2 separate regions of the Homo sapiens genome follow, and region 2 is linked to region 1. The links are contacts of gene promoters, found by promoter capture Hi-C in human tissues and cell types (Jung and others, 2019). All regions are on one chromosome and are shown on one strand. Each heading gives the region's core, a stretch centred on a gene start or on the middle of the fragment in contact. The rest is flanking DNA. Distances are from core to core; before and after follow the strand shown.

What was found. Contacts are between HindIII fragments. The study calls those that stand out against the background at their distance.
Region 2: a fragment that was not itself captured here is called in contact with the fragment with the promoter of EFCC1 in region 1 in 2 of the 25 tissues and cell types used here (IMR-90 fibroblasts and liver).

Annotation. Positions count from the first base shown.
Region 1 is chr3:128,999,712-129,006,204 of GRCh38, reverse strand. EFCC1 (EF-hand and coiled-coil domain containing 1) reads right to left here and starts at 4,901. Exons shown (of 8, transcript NM_001377500.1): 1 at 3,881-4,901; 2 at 2,128-2,411. The coding sequence starts at 4,576. It also overlaps a transcript of CFAP92 not described here. The HindIII fragment of the contact is 14,506 bases long and covers 1-6,493 here.
Region 2 is chr3:129,197,478-129,204,508 of GRCh38, reverse strand. No RefSeq gene overlaps it. Among named protein-coding and RNA genes, the nearest start is that of CNBP, 17 kb to the right of the region's middle. The HindIII fragment of the contact is 6,057 bases long and covers 1-5,292 here.

The DNA.
Region 1 (6,493 bases), core at 3,652-6,151:
ACTGTGAATCGAAGCACACAGGCAGTGGGGCCAGGCTGATTTGACTTTCCTACTTTCTGGCTGTGTGGCCTTGGGTACATTACTTAACTTCTCAGTGCCTCATTTCTCACAATCTGTAAACTGGGGATAAAACATCTACCTTGTACAACCTTATGGGGACTAAATGGTGCATTGGCTATGAATCCACTTTTTCTATTGTAAAGGGCTATGCCAATGTTTGTAGTCACTTGTAGCATTCTGCTATAGAGGACTAGTTGTGATTTTAGAAATAAACAAAGAAGAGCCCCTTTATTTCTCCTCTTGGATAAAGTTCCAAGGCTGGATGTGGGCCTCAAGCCAACCAGCCCTGCTCTTTAGCCATCAGCTATGCAAACAGGAAGTGGCTCTCCAAACACTGCATGCTGCAGGAGGCTGGCCCAGAGTCTGCCTCTTTGGAGGCCTCCCTCTAGCCCCATGCCTTACCATCTCCCAGCTGTGAGCTTCTCAGATGTCCAGTAGGTTCAAGGCCACCCCTTCTGGCTGCTCCACCCCCAGCCTGGGCTAGACCACCTTCCTCTCAGGATCAGGGATGGCAGGAGCCCCTCACTGGGCTCTGCACTGTCTCCTGCTCTCCCCATCTGCCCATCTCTTTGTCACATTGTAGCCAGGGTAACTTTTTATTGAAATCTGCTTCTGTCACCTCCTTACTTAAAACTTTTCCATGGTTTCATGTTCTTTCTCTTAAGGGAAAAACTGAAATCCTTGCTGCCACCTTCCAGGCCCTAAATGGGCCTCCCTTCAGCTCTACCCCTCCAGCCACTCTGGCCTCCTTTTAGTTTTTGAATGGTCCCTTCTGCCCTAGGGCTTTGCCCGTACTGTTCCAATTTTCTAGAATGGAATGTTCTCTCTTCTCCTCTCTCCATCTGGCCCGGTAACATCCTATCCTCAAGTGTCACTTCTTTGGGGGCAGGCTGATGAGTGTCCCCCACCTCCTGCCTGCTGCCACGCATCTGTTCCTGTGAAGGTCTCACCTGCTCACAGGTGGCTGCTCAGGGCAGGGAATTCAGTCTGTCCTAGTCACGTGGTCACATCCCTGATGCCTGGGATGGCCCCTGGCACACAGAAAGTGCTCAGCAAATGTGTAGTCAGGCCGGCCAGCAGGCAGGGGTGACTTGTGATTTGAAAGGGAGAGAGGCTCTGTCTACCAAGCATCTACCATGTGCCAGGCAGGACCTCATGGCCTCTTCACAGCCACTCCCACAGGCAGGGACCCCAATCTGTGTTCCACCCAAGAGGAAGCAGGGTCTGTGAGGGGTGGTGACTTGCCCACACTCACACGTCTGCCAAAAGCCCTGCCAAGATTTGAACCTGGGTCCCAAGTCCAGCTTCCTGCCCTGGTGGAGCTAGCACAGGCAGTCATTACACACCTGTTTCCTCATCTACAGAGTGGAAACATAGCAGTACCCACCTCACAGGGCAGCTGTGAGGCTTAAATGAGTTAAGCCACATAAAGTACTTAGCTCAAGGCCTGGCAAACAGCGAGTGCTTAGTAACTGTAAGCTATTATCATTATGATCGAATCCAGGAACAAATAAGAATGAGCACATTCAACTGCAATCTATGATAAACAAATAGAGGGTGTTTGTGGATGAACAGGAGGATGGATGGACGGCTGGCTGGCTGGGTGGGTGGGGGGATGGATGGATGATGGATGGGTGGGTGGGTGAGTGGATGGGTGGGTGAGTGAGTGGATGGATGAATAGATGGATGGACGGGTGGGTAGGTGAGTGGATAGGTGGATGGATGAATGGGTGAGTGGATGGATGGGTGAGTGGATGGATGGGTGGGTGGGGGGGGTGAGTGAATGGACAAATGGATGGATGGATGGGTGGGTGTGTGGGGTGGGTGAATGGATGGACAGATGGATGGATAAATGGATGGGTGGGCAGATGGTTGCAGAGCAAGCAATGGAGCAGACTTATAACTTAAGAAATGGAGAACTGACAAAGGAATGAAAGAATACATGAATAAACGCATGGAGAAACTGCGGAACACGAGAGCGCGTGGGAGGGGGATTGCACACCCGAAGTTTGGGAAAATGGGAGCCGAATTGGGGAACTTGGGCCCAGGGCACGCGCCCCCGCTCACCTGTAGCGTTGCAGCTCCGCCTCCAGCCGCCGCACCCAGCGCTGCAAGCCGGGCACCTGTTGCGCCAGCGCCTCCAGCTCTCGCACGCGGTGCAGGCTGCGCAGCACCACCTGCCGGGCCTCCTCCGCGCGCCGCCGCACCTCGGCCTGGCCACGGCGCAGCCGCCCAGCGCGGGCCTCCGCCGCAGCCAGGGCGCCCTGCGCCTGACGCAGCTCCCGCACCGCAGCCTCCGGCCCGCCGTGCCCCATCTCGTGGGTGCTCGCCTGGCTCTTCCAGAGTCCGACCTGCGGGGACAGGGCAGCAGGGGCAGGGGGTAAGTGCCCCAGCCAGATGCACCAGACGAACGCCCGCCACGACGGCGGCCCCATGCCTCTGCACCCAGAAGCGCTTGAGCACGTTTCTTGCGCCGTCTGCTTCCGGGTGCCAGGCCCTTAGGTCCGGTGCGTCCAAGCTCCTTTAACCCTCGCCACATCCCCAGGGAGGCCCAAGCTCTGATTCCTCCTCATCCCCCACCCCCCAACGTTTTTTCACTGAAGGAAACTGAGACACGACGCCTGTATTCTGTTCCCTCTATAGTACCAACCTCGCGACTCTTCTCGGCCTACTGTATTGGCGGCGTTCAGCCTGCCGGGTGGCGGTTCCTCATCTCCTAGACTCCCCCCAGTGGCATTTCCAGCCCTCCCCGTGCCTGCTCACTAGAGGCTTTTGAGGGTGGTTTCTATCTGTCTTTACTGGTGTGTTCCCAGAGCCTAAAACAAACCTGGCACATAGTAGGTGCTCAATAAATACCAAGCATGAGAGATGCCGGAAGACCGTTCAGGCGCATCCCATGGCTCCCAGTACGTTACTTGGGATTCCACATCAGAGGAGTAGTTTCCCGCCTCCACCCTGGCTTCCATGCACACTGACACTGAAAACCACACCTTGCCACTTCCCTGCACTCTGCAGTGTCCTGAGCTAAGGCGGGGTCATATAATGTCAGTTTCTTCCTGGCCTGTTGTCGCCTGGGGTAGGGGCTGTTCCTTTCCTCCTCTGACCCCTGCGGCCCAGCACTGCCCTTGGTGCTCGGCTGGCACAGTGCTTAAGTGTTTGTCGACGGCTCCCAGATGCTAAGGCTGGGTCCCTATCTCACCCCATGGTTTCTTCTCAATAGCCCAGAGCGGGTCTGGTTCCCGCAGGCACTTGGTGGCCCGTGAGTGCCTGATCCACAGTGTGAGCCACATTGTCTGTTTCTCACTTGTCTCTGTTTCTCCCACAGGGAGCCCCATAAGTCTTTGCTGATTGACAGAAGGAGCTGTCAGTCTACCCCAGGAGGCAGGGATATCCCTAAAGGTGAGGACAGGGCCTTCTTCACACTTCTGTCTCCTAAACCTCCCAGAAGCCTGGCAGGAAGGAGAGAGAAAGATGCTTGTTGAAAGGGAATATGTGAGACTACCCAGACAGGTGCAATTCCTAGGTTAAAGGGGCAAGACGCGATGATGTGGCGGTGGAGCAGAAAAGTGGGGTATGGTTGTTTGAGTGTGATTGGGGTTTTCAGGAATGGAATAGGTGGTAAGAATAGGGTTGGGGACTGGAGTGGAATGGGGAGGAACAGGGGCAAGATGCAAGTGTGCTGATGCGGAGTGGGATGGTGTGGGGCTGCCCTCTGTCTCCCCTTCCTCTGACTCTGTCCTGTCGGGCTCCGCAGCCAGCCAGCTTTTAGTTCGAGCCCTCTCCCGGGCGTTACCACCCTCCCTTCGTGGCCGGCGCGCACCTGCAGTGCTAGGCAGCGCGCATCACTGCTCTGCAGCGCGGCGCGCAGGTCCTCCACCAACTCGCGCAAGCTGCTATTCTCCTCCTCCAGCCGCGCAACGCGCTCACAGTCAGGACCGCTGTCGGGGCCAGGCGCGCAGGGCGGGCGGCGGCGGCGGCGCGGACGGCGCAGGCGGATCTGCGTCTCGATGTGCTCGCTGAGAGCGCCGCGGGGCAGCCGGGGCCCCGCACGGGTGCCGAAGTAGCCACAGAGGCGCGCGTGGAACTGGCGGAAGGTGAGCTCCGGCGGCTCGGCGCGCAGCGCCAGGCGCGCCTCTTCATCGGTATCTGAGTCCCCGTCCGTGGCCAACTCAGCGGCCGCATCCCCGGGGGTCACATCTCTGGAGTTCCCGTCACCTGCTGCCTGCCCGGCCGTGGTGGCCCCCTCCGCGCGCAGCCCCAGCACAGCGCAGAGCGCTCGGAAGTCGGCGCGGGGCAGACGGCCGGCGCCGCGGCAGTCCAGGTGGTGGAAGACCTCCTGCAGGTACTGGTCCAGGCCGGTGGCCAGCACCACGATCTCGTTCTCCACGCCGCGGTCCAGCCCGTAGTGGTGCGCCAGGGCGCTCAGCAGCCACTGCGTGCGCCGCGCAGGTCGCCGGTACGGGTCACCTCCCGCGCCCTCCATGCCGGCCTCCGCGCCCGTGCTGACCGGCTCCATCGCTGCGCCGCGCGCCTCGCTCCTCCGGTCCCTCCTCCGGTCCCTTCGCCCCGCCACTTCCAGGGGCGGCCCCAGAGTTTCTCGAAAGGAGGGGCTTAGCGGTCGCGGTCTGGTTGGAGCGGCGCCGGGGACCGTGTCCAGCAGCTGCGCTGGCCTCACAGTGCGTCTGGTTTACCCCAGTTGCTTTGGAGGGGCCTGGGGTAGGGGGTCCAGGAACCCCCGGGACCCCGGCAGCGCCACCAGTGCCCGGTCGGCGTCTGGGTCTGGCTTCTCCGCGTGACTCCCACGCTCTCCTCTCCTCACTCACGGGGCGTTCCTGGCGTCTGCGCTTTTCCTCCCACTCCCGGCCGTCCACTCTCAACTCCCTCCTCCCTCCGCCCCGCCCGCCTGGCGCGGAGAGTTCGCTCCGAGACCTGGGCGAGGGGTTGGCGCGGGATCCGAAGCCCAGGAGGGCCTTGGGGGTGGCGGCCTCGTCCGGTTGCTGGGGATGTGCCCCCACACCCAAGCGTCACTCTTCCCCCTCTTCCCGGAAGGCCTTTCGAGGGTTGCCTGGCAAGCCTGCTCTCGCCGCCCTGTAGCCGTAGGTGCGGAAAAGCCTCCCCTCCGCTTCAATTCAGCTACTGGGTTTCCGAACCCACTTCTTGTGCCACCATAGACCGTGCAAAGAGCCCCAAGTAGTAACTGGGAAAGAGAGGGAAACAGGCTTGGAGAGGCAAGGGGTCTAGGTTAGGGGCACCCCGCTGGTGAGAAGCCCATCTGAGACGAGCCCTGTGCTAACTGCTCTCTCCCGATCCCTGTTGGGGGTGGGGATAGGACTCTCGGGAAAGTGGTGTCTCCCGGCCCTGCCACCTTTGTGCCTGCCGGTGCTGACTTGGCAATGGGATCCGAGTTCCATCTCTTGAGCTGGGGTTAGGTTAACAGGTCGATGATTGGCTGATGTTTTTTTCTGGTGTTTTAGAACACATTTCTGGAAGATGAAGAAAAACCTGCTTCTCTGGTGAGTGCTAGACTGTGTTCCCTTTCTTTTTCACGAGAGGGGTGCAGTGATATTGTGATATTGTCCACCTGTTACCTGCACCGGGAACGGTTATCCAGCCACGGTACCCAGCCATGTTGGAGCAAGAGGCAGACTCTTCAGCTGTTCCTAGCTATGACAGAGACAGAATCTTGCCTTGTGGATAACTCTGTGAGTTTAAATGTAAAATCTTGCCGTTTGAAAAGCGATAGCATTCTGTCTCCTCTGCCACAGTATCCCAGAATCAGCACGTTGTCCATTTGGCAAATTCGTACTTGTTCTTGAAGGCTTTGCCCAGAGTACATATCTGCTGGGAAGGAGTTAGAGGCTTCTCCCCAAGCATTTTGGACATATTCTTTTAGGTTTGTTTTTAATTATAAAAGTAATGGCAATTTGACAAAGTTTTTACATCACGTCCACTTCTTGGCTTCTACCTTCGAAAGCCACTGTGCACAGGATGTTCACTGCATCATTGTTTATTACAGTGAGAAACTGGAGACAACCTGGTGTCCATCAAATCAGCTAGGACTCAGCAAACGAGGATGAGCGGACACAGCAAGCCACAAGCTGATTATGCACAACACTGATGCTTACATAACAAGAACAAAAACACACAAAACAATACTAAGTATTTTCTACTAGGACATGTGTATGTGAGTGCACAGAAGAAGATGGAGGGATTCATAAGTGGATTCAGTGGTTCTTTCTGCAGATGGGAGACACTGCAGTATTTCCCTTTTGTTAAGATGTTCTCATGTGTTTCTTTTTCTTGGCCGGTCGCGGTGGCTCACGCCTGTAATCCCACCACTTTGGGAGGCCGAGGCGGGTGGATTGCCTGAGGTCAAGAGTTCGAGAACAGCCTGGACAACATAGTGAACCACCCCCATCTCTACTAAAAATAC
Region 2 (7,031 bases), core at 1,015-3,514, 200 kb before region 1:
TCTAAATTTATTCAGTTATTTAGTTTATTTACTTAGTTTTTCTAAAGTTTCAACTAATTAAAATTTCCTAGCTTTATTTTATGATTTTGATCAGAATTTGTATATTATTCCTACCTATTCAAACTGTGTATAAAACCGTATAAAACAGCTTTTCACATGAAGAAATATGATGTCTATTTTAATGCCTCTTTTGTTTTTTGTATAATATAGGTACAGGGGGAATGAAACTAATAATTATTCAGTGGCCAGTAAATACTAGGCTTGAGCTGGGCACTTTTACATATGCAATCTCATTTCATTTAAGCCTCACAAAGTCATGTGAAGATGATCTATGTTTTGGAGACAAGAAAACTGAGCTCACAGAGGTTGAAGAACTTGCTCCAAGATAAAGTCCTGATTCAAACCCTGTTCTGACTGTTTTCAAAATGTATGTTTTTTTGGTATTTCTATAGCACTCAGTAATGGTTATTGGACTGTAAGCAACAGAAATTGTGCATTTAAGGTATGAGGACACTCTGGGCACAGTGGCTCCTGCCTGTAGTCCCAACTACTCAGGAGGCTGAGGCAGGAAGATTACCTGACTCCTGGAGTTTAGGGCTGTAGTGAGCCATGACTGTACCACTGCATTCCAGCCTGGGCAACAGAGCAAGATCCCATCTCTAAATAAATTAACAAAAATTTAAATATAAAGCAACTATTATCAATATGTTAAAGGTTACAACAGACATAATGAATGAAAAGATTAGTTATTGCTGGAGAGAAATGGAAACTTAAAAGTAGCCAGGCTGGGCATGGTGGCTCACACCTATAATCCCAGCAGTTTGGGAGGTCAACATAGGAGGATCACTTGAGGCCAGAAGTTCAAAACCAGCCTGGCCAACATGGTGAAACCCCATCTTTATTAATAATACAAAAATTAGCTGGGCATGGTGGCATGCACTTGTAATCCCAGCTACTTGGGAGGCTGAGGCAGGAGAATCACTTGACCCTGGGAGGTGAAGGTTGCAGTGAGCCAACATTGCGCCACCACACTCCAGCCTGGACGACAGAGTGAGACTCCATCTCAAAAAAAAAAAAAAAAGAAAGAAAAGAAATACCTGAGACTGGGTATTTTATTGAGAAAAGAGGTTTAATTTCTCACAGTTCTGTAGGCTGTACAAGCATGGCACCAGCATCTATCTTATCAGCTTCTGGGGAGGCCTCGGGGAGCTTTCACTCATGATGGAAGGTGAAGCAGGAGCAGGCACATCATCACATGGTGAAGGCAGGAGCAAGACAGTGTAGGGGGAAGGTGCCACACGCTTAAACAACCAATCTTATGATAACTCACTCACCATTGCAAGGACAGCACCAAGCCATGAGGGATCTGCCCCATGACCCAAACCCCTCCACCAGGCCCCACCTCCAACATTAGGGATTACATTTCAACATGAGATTTGAGTGGCGACAAATATCCAAACTATATATCATATGCCCTTAGGGAATTGCAAATTAAAACAAAAATGAGATACTATTACACATCTATTAGAATGGCCAAAATCTAAAACACTGACAATATCAAATGCTGACAAGGATGTTGAGCAACAGGAACTCTCATTCATTGCTCAGGGGAAGGGCAAATGGTACAGACACTTTGGAAGACAATTTGGCAGTTTCTTACAAAAATTAAATATACTCCTACCATATGAACCAGCAATTTGCTTTGTGGTTATTTAACCAAATGAACTGAAAATATGTCCACAAAAAACCTGCACACAGATGCTTATACCAGCTTTATTCATGATTGTCAAAACTTGGAAGCCACCAAGATGTCCTTCAGCAGGTGAATGGATAAACTGTAGTACATTCAGACAATGGAATAGCATTCAGCACTAAAAAATGAACTATCAAGACATGAAAAGACATGGAGGACCCATAAACGCGTATCACTAAGTGAAAGATGCCAATCTGAAAAGGCTACATACTGTGTGATTCCAAATACTGTACATAACAGTCTGGAAAAGCAAAAATACGGAGAAGTCCAGGTTGCCAAGGATTAGGAGAGAGTGATGAATAGGCAGAGCACAGAGATTTTGGGGGCAGTGACAACCACTCTGTATGATACTACAAAAGTGGATACATATCGTTATACTTTTGTCCAAACCCATATAATGTATGGCACCAAGAGTGAACCCTAATGTAAATTATGAACTTTTGGGGGTAATGATGAATCAGTGAAAGTTCATTGATTGTAACAAATCTATCACTCTAGTGGAGATGCTGATCCTTGTTTATGCATGTGTGGGGGCAGGGAATGAATGGGAACTCTGTACTTTCTGCTCAATTTTGCTATGAACTTAAAACTGCTCAAAACAATGTTCTGGGCTGGCCACCATGGCTCACACCTGTAATCTCAGCACTTTGGGAGGCCAAGGCACTTTGCATCACTTTACTCAGGAGTTTGAGACCAGCCTGAGCAACACAGTGAAACTTCATCTCTATCAAAATTTTTAAAAAACCCAATGTTCTGGAATTAGTGATAACAACTAATTTGATGTCATGGCACTATGAATGTACTAAAACCTACTGAATTGTACATTTTAAAAGGGTGGCTTTTATGGTATGTCAATTATATCTCAATAAAGCTGTTATTAAAAAGACACTATTTCACAAGATTATTGTGTGGATTAAACAAGATCATGTGGCATTTTGTATATGTCTGTTATAATACTTGGTAAATACTGTTTTGTAAATACTTGTTGCCTTCTACCCATAGACATTAACAGCTGCAGAGCCTGGCCTGGGCTGTCTTTTCAACTTTAGTTTTATTTTTATATTTTACTTTTTAGAGACAGGGTTTCACTCTGTTGTCCAGGCTGGAGTGCAGTGGCACGATCATGGGTCACTGCAGACTTGACCTGTTGGGCTCAAGCAATCCTCCTGCCTTGGCCTCCTAAGTAAGCTGGGAGTACAAGCACCCACACCACCACTGGCTAAGCTTTGTATCCTCAGTGTTTAGCTTAATACCTGGCATTTGGTGCTTAAGGAAGGAATTGCAGGTGAGAGACAAAGTAGAGAGAAGGACCACAGATGACTCCAAGGCTTCTAATCTGGACTAACAGATGAGTGGTGGCTGACACAGACTTTAAAATGATAAGCTGGTTTTGTTTGCTTGTTTGTATATTTGGTAAAGTACATTGTAGTTTAAATGAGTTGTATTTGAACAGTGTGTGGAAATGCCCGGTTTAATCTATCCAAATTTTAAGTAAAGATACAAGTCCCAAATTCAAAAAGGAGGTGAGGGCTGGGTGTGGTGGCTCACACCTGTAATCCCAGCACTTTGGGAGGCCAAAGCGGGTGGATTATCTGAGGTCAGGAGTTAGAAACCAGCCTGGCCAACATGGTGAAACCCCATCTCTACTAAAAAAAAAAAATACAAAATTAGCTGGGCGTGGTGGCACATGCCTGTAATCCCAGCTATTTGGGAGGCTGAGGCAGGAGAATTGCTTGATCCTGGGAGGCGGAGTTTGCAGTGACCCGAGATTGTGCCATTGCACTCCAGCCTGAGCAACAAGAGTGAAACTCCATCTTAAAACAAACAAACAAACAAAAAAAAAAAAACGAGAGAGAAAGACGTGAGGGGTAAAGCTTGAAAATGTGTCATCAGTCACCAGTGGTCTGTGGGCAAAATCCATCCTGCTAATGGGTTTCATTTGGCCAGAACAATCTTTTAAATAAGTTGCCAACAGTTGAAAATTAGAAGATTCTCAAAAATATCAAGAATTTTAACTTCTGCCAAAAGGTCAGATATCTGGCAACGCTAATCTCGTGTTCCCTAAAGGCAATGACCAGCTGCCCCGAAGTGAGCTTAGTTGGCTCCTTTCATCTTAGATGGGAGTTGAAGCGAAGATTCTGGAGAGCAAGGAGGGACACCGCAAAGGACAGATCCTTCAGAATCACCAGCAAGTGGCCGGGCACGGTGGCTCATGCCTGTAATCCCAGCACTTTGGGAGGCCGAGGCGGGCGGATCACTTGAGGTCAGGAGTTCGAGACCAGCCTGGCCAACATGGTGAAACCCTGCCTCTACTAAAAGTACAAAAATTAGCCAGGCGTGGTGGCTCATGCCTGTAGTCCCAGCTACTCGGGAGGCTGAGGCAGGAGAATGGCGTGAACCCAGGAGGCGGAGCTTGCAGTGAGCCGAGATCACACCAGTGCACTTCAGCCTGGGCGACAATGCGAGACTCCATCTCAAAAAAAAAAAAAAAAAAGAAACACCAGCAAGTACAGATGAGGAGGTGAAAGCAGGCACGGGGTGGCAGGTCTTGCATTCTCTGGCCTTTCTATCTCCTTTTCTGGGTCGCCAATGTTTAGCCTGGCTTCTTGTCTTGTTGCTTCACCATCAAGAATCTCAACGTAGTTGACTTTGGAGGTCATGGACCCTTGTACTTGAAACTCTTTTCTACTCTATCTCTTTTCTCTTTCCCAGCAGAAGGCTAATGGAAACCAGAAATTAAAAGTAGCTCTACTCTTCCTATTTATTCTGGCAAAACTCTTGGACTGAGTAGTATGGGTAATTGAGATACGAAGTTTTGAGATATTTTGCCAAAGTGATTAGCTGACCAAAAATGTTGAGAACCATTGCTTTGTCACATAGGATGAACATGACTGGAATCATTATTATTTATAAGGTCCTGTGGGTTGTTTTCTGATATAATAATAACAACAAAACATTTGAGTAGCACATTACAGTGTAAAAAGTACTTCTTATATATACTTGATTCCAAAGTCACAGACCTCTTGTGGGTAAGTGATAACTTCCTCATTGTATGGCAGTTCCACTTAGAAACTATTCATATTGACATCGATTCCGGAGATTCCAGATTCCATTTGCTGTATCATTGCAAAGGCCAGCATAAAATACAAGCCAACTGCTGTTATCAGCAAATCAAGGTTGGAAGGTACTTAAAAAACAGGAAAAGCGTGTGGAAAATGCCTTGTCTTAGCGACTCTCAAATGCAATGTAATAAATGCTGGCTCTGAGGACAACGTACAAATCAGGCAATCTCAGGTGTGATGCCAAGAGGGAAAATGAGGTATTCATTCAATAATAGTTCATTGGCTGGGCGCGGTGGCTCACGTCTGTAATCCCAGCACTTTGGGAGGCCAAGGTGGGCGGATCACGAGGTCAGGAGATCGAAACAATCCTGGCTAACACGGTGAAATGCCGTCTCCACTGAAAAAAAAAATTAGCCAGGCGTGGTGGCGGGTGCCTGTAGTCCCAGCTACTCGGGAGGCTGAGGCAGGAGAATGGCATGAACCCGGGAGGCGGAGCTTTTAGTGAGCCGAGATTGCACTACTGTGCTCCAGCCTGGGCAACAGAGCGAGACTCCATCTAAAAAAAAAAAAAAATAGTTCATTGAAGGCCCATGTGCCAAGTACGCTATTAGATACCAGGACCTTGTCTACTCTGAGCCTGTAGAGTCTGCTCTTAATTTATTTTATTTTAGGGACAGTCTTGCTCTGTCACCCAGGCTAGAGTACTCTAGGTATGTGCCACCACACTCGGCTAATTTTTATTTTTTAATTTTTTTGTAGAGACAGGGGTCTCACTTTGTTGCCCAGTCTAGTCTCAAAACTCCTGGCCTCAAGTGATCTTACCTCAGCCTCCCAAAGTGCTGGGATTACAGGCGTGAGCCACTGCACCCAGCCTGCAATTTAGAAACATATAATGAAATGATGAGATTTGTTTTCATGAAATGATGAGATTTGTTTTCAAGACCTTCTATAATTTTAGTTGGCAGAGTTAGCTTTTTTTCCTCTCTACTGTGAATCCTAAGATATAATTTCACCTTTTATGCCCCTGTGTAACAACCCAGTGTATTCTCCTTCACATAGAAATAGATTGCTTGGCACAGGGGCTCACTCCTGTAATCCCAGCACTTTGGGAGGCCGAGGCGGGCGGATCACTTGAGGTCAGGAGTTCGAGACCAGCCTGGCCAACATGGTGAAACCCTGCCTCTACTAAAAGTACAAAAATTAGCCAGGCATGGTGGCGGGCACCTGTAGTCCCAGCTACTCAGGAGGCTGAGGCAGGAGAATCACTTGAACCTGGGAGGCAGAGGTTGCAGTGAGCTGTGATCACGCCACTGCATTCCAGCCTGGGAGACAGAGCGAAACTCTGTCTCAAAACAACAACAACAACAAAATTAGCTGGGCATGGTTGTGGGTGCCTGTAATTCCAGCTACTTGGGAGGCTGAGGCAGGAGAATTACTTAAACCCAGGAGGTAGAGGTTGCAGTGAGTCAAGATCGTGCCACTGCACCACTCCAGCCTGGGTGATAAAGTGAGACCCTTCTCAAAAAGAAAAAAGAAAAAAAGAAATATATCAAAGTAGGTATTAGGAGAAAGTGAGTAAGGGTCTATAGGTCTGATGTGAGGAAACTCAAGGAGACTGCTCCTTGGCTTCTCTAGAAAATCTACCACAAGAGATTTAATGTGGCCTTCAAGAAAGACCCTTGGAAGAAACCCTGGAAATGCTAAGACCTTGGCCAATGTCCCCTAACTTCTCAATGGGAAGTTATTTACTGGTTCTTATTCAGCTGAGACCACAACCTATGAGTACTGGAAAGATAACAGGAAGGAAGGGGAAAGGGAGATGTGAAAAAAGAGACAGAAATTAAAGAAAAATTCCACCCTTTAGTTGTGCCTTAGGTCTCCCCGAGTCCCAGTCAATACCCTGGGGCTTAATCCTGCTGCATCATTCTTCCAGTTTTCTATTAATAAAGGAAGTGCAAGGTGCTGTGTGCAGCTGTGAACATGCGGGTGCATACACACACACACACACACAGTTGGATTGTTGTTCAAAACTTGGGATGTTGTCTGTCTATCCTGAATTTTTCAGACATACACACCTTCCTCACCTGCTGCCAAGCAGCCCTATAGACAGTCTCCTGGGAATAGCAGGCCAACAGGAAAAGCTTGCTGAACTGCCAATGTGCAGACATTCACATGTCCCAGGCCCCAGCCCTGCACTCCCTAGGGTTCTTCTGCTC